Regions from separate parts of the Homo sapiens genome. Here region 1 is linked to region 2. Evidence: promoter capture Hi-C in human tissues and cell types (Jung and others, 2019). All regions are on one chromosome and are shown on one strand. The core of a region is centred on a gene start or on the middle of the fragment in contact, and the rest is flanking DNA. Distances in the headings are between cores, read along the strand shown.

What was found. The method cuts DNA at HindIII sites, captures the fragments that hold promoters and counts their contacts. A contact is called where the count stands out against the background at its distance.
Region 1: a contact is called between a fragment that was not itself captured here and the fragment with the promoter of GRID2 in region 2, in 2 of the 25 tissues and cell types used here (H1 embryonic stem cells and adrenal gland).

The regions. Positions count from the first base shown.
Region 1 is chr4:92,419,848-92,422,743 of GRCh38, forward strand. The region is part of intron 1 of GRID2 (glutamate ionotropic receptor delta type subunit 2); the gene reads left to right. Among named protein-coding and RNA genes, the nearest start is that of GRID2, 120 kb to the left of the region's middle. The HindIII fragment of the contact is 4,438 bases long and covers 1-2,896 here.
Region 2 is chr4:92,302,445-92,305,230 of GRCh38, forward strand. It overlaps GRID2 (glutamate ionotropic receptor delta type subunit 2), which reads left to right and starts at 1,522. Exons shown (of 16, transcript NM_001510.4): 1 at 1,522-2,300. The coding sequence starts at 2,213. The HindIII fragment of the contact is 11,112 bases long and covers 771-2,786 here.

The DNA of each region.
Region 1 (2,896 bases), core at 167-2,666, 120 kb after region 2:
AGTAATCATCAGAAAATATACTCTGAAAATTGGAAAATATACCTATTTTATTTACTTAAATATTTCAAATTTTACGCTGTTGTTCTCTGAAAATATAAAAATGAAATTTCATCAAAGTTTCTTAGTCATTATTATAAAGTATGATATTTTCAGCATGAATTAGAACAAATATATAGTCTTGACATATAGCTTATTATTGGGGATTATAGAGTTGTTTGCAGTGAAGGGATTTTAGCACTTCTTTTAAAAAATTGGTTTCACAAAATGTATCACTGGAAAATTTATTTCCCTTTGGAGAATTCTGCTGTGACTACAAATTCACTCTTGTCAATTCTTTGCTATAGCTTTGCTAGAGAGCATGTATAATACTAAACTATAATATAAACTTAATTGGATTGATCCATTTATGTATTTATTGCATTTGTCTGGAAATTATTACCATAAACTTTTAAATAGTAAGTTTTAACACCTAATATGGTGTTATGATGCACATAGAAACTATTTTTAAATTTATAGAATCAAATAACTTGATTACAATTTTATGATTATCCTATCTAAGCTCCAGCCTAGTACAGGAGTCTGTTTATCACTGAAGACCATTTATTAGCATATTTTAAATATAATAAAAGGGAGAGCACATGCTTGTGTTATAAGACAAATCATATTTTTGTTGTTTACAAGGTTTGTTTTCATATTTGATTTGTCTTCTCCTAATTTCAATCCCTAGTCTGTCCTTCACATAATACATCAATACAAAAATCAATTACCAATTTCAAATGATAACTTTTCAAATAGATGAAGCAGACATGGACATCACCCACACTGAAATGTTTTTTGTTTTGTTTTGTTTTGTTTGAGACAGAGTGTCTCTCTGTAGCCCAGGCTGGAGTGTAGTGGTGTGATCTCAGCTCACTGCAACATCCACCTTCTGGGTTCAAGTGATTCTTATGCCTCAGCATCCTGAGTAGCTGGGATTACAGGCACGTGCCATCATGCCCAGCTAATTTTTGTATTTTCAGAAGAGATAGTGTTTTCACGTGTTGTCCAGGCTGATCTCAAACTCCTAGCCTCAAGTGATCTGCCTGCCTCAGCTTCCAAAAGTTCTGGGATTATAGGCATGAGCCAAGCTGCCTGGCCCTCACACTGAAGTTTTTTTTAATGTAAATTCTCTGTCAGTTACTACACAACTTAAAAGGTAAATGAGAACAGTTCTTTTTGTTTTTTTCAGTTCCATCATTTACTTTTTCATATGGCTAGTTTCCAAATGCTGCACCTTTTACATGATCAGCTCTGAGAGCTTTATCTTTTATTAATTTTATTTATATTTATTAATCATGGTTATTTAAATTATTTGTTTGTTGAGTGCTCTGTATGTGTTAAGATCTGTACGGACTGTTTTATATTTATTAATTTAGTAAATACCTGCTGAGTTCATTCTATATATCTGGTACTTGAATTCAGTACAGTGGAACAATGGATGTGTTATAGGAATTAGACCTTATACAATTGTGGGAGGAGCTGAGGAAATACAGATGGAAAAAGGAGAAAGTTTGAGAAAAGATCACCAGTCAGTCTTCCCAAAGCACTGTCACCTTTGGCATGAGAATGCTGAGAACCCAAGCACATTTGGTTGCTGAAGTGGGACTGCAAATGAAAGTTTGTAGAAAAGTCAGTTAGAAGCTTTTGACCCTGTAAGATCTATCTGCTGTAGGCCCACTGCTAAGAGTCTGGTAGTGGGTCCAAGGCTGCTGTTATTCAAACAGGACTAATAGATGAGAATAAGAATTAGACACAAAGCAGAAGAGAGTAAAAACAAGCTAGAGTTTGCTGGGCGCTCTGTTTCAGTCACTCTCTGTGTCTGATGTAGGTTTAGAGAGTAATGCCCACTGCTTCACTTTCCTATCCCAAATCTTGCACAAGTTCCTTTTCTGTTCAACTCTAATCCAGAACTATACAAAGAAAAGAACACTGGGTAGTATAGTTAATAGCTTAACTATTAGAGAGCCAATAGTTCAAATCTGCAAGGGATGCTTGGGATTCAGTGGTGAAAAGACAGAAAAAGTTCCTCGCTTCTTGCAGTTACATTCTAGTGGTAGAGTCAGAAAATAATAAATATTTTATTTAATGTCAAGCAGTGGAAGTTCAGGAAAAATAATTAAGCAGAGAAAGGAATGGAGAATGATGCCTTGGAGCAGCATGAGTGGAGGATGAGATGAGGCTTCCCTTTTTGAGTAAGGTGGATGAGGAAGACTCATCTAAGGAAATGCAAATGAGCCTTAGAGACCTCAGTGATGTAATGTGAATCTTTCAGCTACCTAAAACAGATCAGTACTGGCAGAGGGTAGGCAGCAGGTGGGAAAAAGCTTGGTGATTTTTGGAAGAGCCGGGTAGTGTGTCTAAAGTTGAATGAGTGAAATGGAGAGTTCTAGGAGCAGATTTAGAGACCTTTCCAGGGATTCGTTCAAAGAGAACATTATAGGCATGAAATGAGTTTGGACAGTGTATGATAGGAGTCCACTGGAGAGTTTTAAGCAGAGATGAGACAAGTTTGAATTTACATTTTATTTTATTTTATTTTTGTGGGAGACCAGAGTTTTATTATTACTCAAATCAGTCTCCCCAAGCATTCAGGAATCAGAGATTTTAAGGACAACTTGGTGGGGAAGGGGAAGCCAGTGAGCCAGCGGTGTTAATTAGTTAGGTAGGAGATGAAATCACAGGGAATTGAAGCTGTCCTCTTGTGTTGAGTCTGTTCCTGGGTGGGGGCCACAAGATCAGAGGAGCCAGTTAACCCATCTGGGTGGTGCCAGCTAATCCATCAAGTGCAAGGTCTGCAAAATATCTCAAGCACTGATCTAGCAAGCAGTTCAGGGAGGGTCAGAATCTTGTAGCCTCC
Region 2 (2,786 bases), core at 272-2,771:
CTCTAATACAAAATAGGGTGTGTTACGACAGCATAGAAGATAGATGGATTTATTCCACATTAAAGGACTGGACACTACTTCATGGGCAAAAGGAATTTGAACTAGCCCTTGAGATGGTGAAGGAGAGTGGTTGGGAGGACAAATACGTGCTTTCCAAGCAGAAATATTAACATAAGTAAAAATATGGCAGCAAAACATTTTCTGGAATGTTCAGGAAAAAGTGTACAAGATGAATGAAAACAGCCAGAAGTGAGAATGTACAACTGTGTCTGGAAAAATAGTAACCCAATTCAGAAGGCTAGAGAGAAGGGCTCAAGTGAGGGAACGGGAGGAAAAGAGGTTTGCCAAACTTGGAGGTAAGGCTTTGAAAGGTTGTGTAATGAGCTTGACATCCACACATCCAACATTCCTAAAGAATTCCAATTATAACTGAGACAATATTATGACATTAATACCTGACCTCGACTAGTCACTCGATTGTGTTAACAAATCTTCAGTTTGCAATGAGGCCAGATTGACATAAGTCAATCATTATAAGAAAAGAAGTCACAATGATCAGGATTTTATCTTAAGGAATAAGCTTGCAGAAAATCCTTTCACTGGAGACTGAGAGGCTGTCATTCAGGACTTCCTCAGCTTTTTCCATGGAAGAGAGTACCCAACTTCCTCATTCGGAATTTATCTACATAGGTTATTAAGCTACTCAATGAAATATTTTGACCAAATGTTTATGAAAAATTTTTCTGTTTTATTTAATTATTCTGCTTTTTTATTTTAATTTCAAGATCTTTTCTATCCTGATAGAGAAGAATTTCTATCAATAGAAAGGATTTCAGGAACCTTTCTCTATCCTGATTGCCTAAAAAATACACTGGAGACAGAAAAAAAAAATCATTGTATAAAAGGTAATTAGCACGTTCTCTCCTTTTTATAACTTTATAATTGAAATCTCATTAAAAGCTTTCTAGGTCTGTATTTCCCTAAGTGACCAGGTGTCCCTAATTTGTTTTCAACCAATGTGACTAATTCCAGGCAAAGACTAGAAAAAGTCTGATACCTGTTAGAGAATAGCAAGGTTAAATAAGTGGGGTGGCTTTTTTAGGTTGCATTTAACCTCGTAAAATAAAGAAAGGAAAAAAAAAGCTTCAATGTCTTTTTACAGTCCTGCCTTTTTCTCAGTCCCGGTTGAAGATTCCATGGGAAATGAGAGCACTATTTTGTTTCTCCCTTGTATTGCAGATAGGGGGAGGAGGTGGTTATTAGAGAGAAGCTCTTCCTCTCTTGGTTTCCCCCTCTCTCCGCCTGACAGCACCGCTCTCTCGCAGGCTCGCTCCTTCTCCTAGGTGATCCATTTCTAGGCAACGTGGGGCTGGTGCTGAAGCTGCCAGGCTCGCTCCTTGCTTCCTGCATCCCGCCAGGCGAAACGCTCCAAAAGCATCCTGCAGCCTGCGGCGGCTTCCCTCCTCTGGCCCGGCCCCGCTGCTCGCGCCCGGCGCAACCCCCCCGCCACCGCGCCCCAGCAAACCGGCTCCCCGGGCCCGCCTCGCCAAGCTGCGTTCCGCGCCTCACGCAGAAAGGGAATTTTCTCTGCATTACTATCTGCATTACCTTGAAGTTCACTTTTTCTACCCCTCTTGGAGAGGGCTTTTTTCCCCCCTCCCTGGTGGAATCTGGCTGCTCCGTTTGGAATCTCCTAATCTTTCCTTTCCACTTAGATTCTGGCAGCGAAGACCAGTGATTCTCTGCGGGCTGTAGGGGCGGGGGCGGGGGTCTTTTTTGGTCCGAGAGGGTGCGGGGAAGGGGGCACATCCGGCGTGAGGGGGGTGTTGGAAGTTGCAGCGGAGCTGGGACCGGAGACCCGCGGCCCCCGCGCAGCGATGGGTCTGATCTGAGCCCCAGCCTCTCCCCCTGCCCAAGAGCAGTAGAGGCTGGATATATTTTTCAAAAGCCAAACTGCAAACAACTCTGGCGATGCCAAAATTCCCCTCCAAGTGACACGGCTTTGCGAAGGAGGTTTCCTCAGGCTGGGCTCTTTCTGTCATTCCCTTCTGCCTTTCTCGGCGACGATAAAAGGCTTTGCTCTGGCAATAGGAATTTAGAAAAAAAGAAAAAGCTGCGCTAAACTCCACCGTGACCTCAAACTCTTTGGACTGTTTGAAAAAAAAAAAATTGGAAGAAAATCCATCCTCCAAGAGAATCGGCATAGGAGGAGATGGAAGTTTTCCCCTTTCTCTTGGTTTTGTCCGTCTGGTGGTCTCGAACCTGGGACTCGGCGAATGCGGATTCGATCATTCACATCGGTAAGAAAGTGTTGGTGCAGCTCGTGGTTACTTTTACCGTTTCAGTTCTCAAATGTTTCCCCTTCGCTTTCCCCCTCTCCGGTCTCTGTGTGTCTTGTTGGAGGTGGCTTCAGTTCATTGCCCCTTCCCGCTACCCTTCCCTCACACTTGCTCAGTTTTCTGAAAGGATGTGGATGCTCGAACCTCGACTGACTTGTGCTGTTGTTTTGCAGTGATTCGTGGAATGTGGCTGGATGCGTGGGGGTCTCGAGTTGACCTGAGTGTGAGTGTGTGCTGGGAACTGCAGGGGGATTCTAAGTGTGTGGGGAAAGGGAGTTTAATTGACTCTTATCTTCCATATTTTTTTTCCCGGATGTACATTTGCTCCATTTAAAAATTTATCTTTGGGGGAGCAGAGAAGCTGTCACCTGTGAGATGAAAAGAACTGGGCTGGGGGGTAGGGGGAGCTCCCTTCGGATCGAACAGGTGGTTTTGCAACGTGAGCCG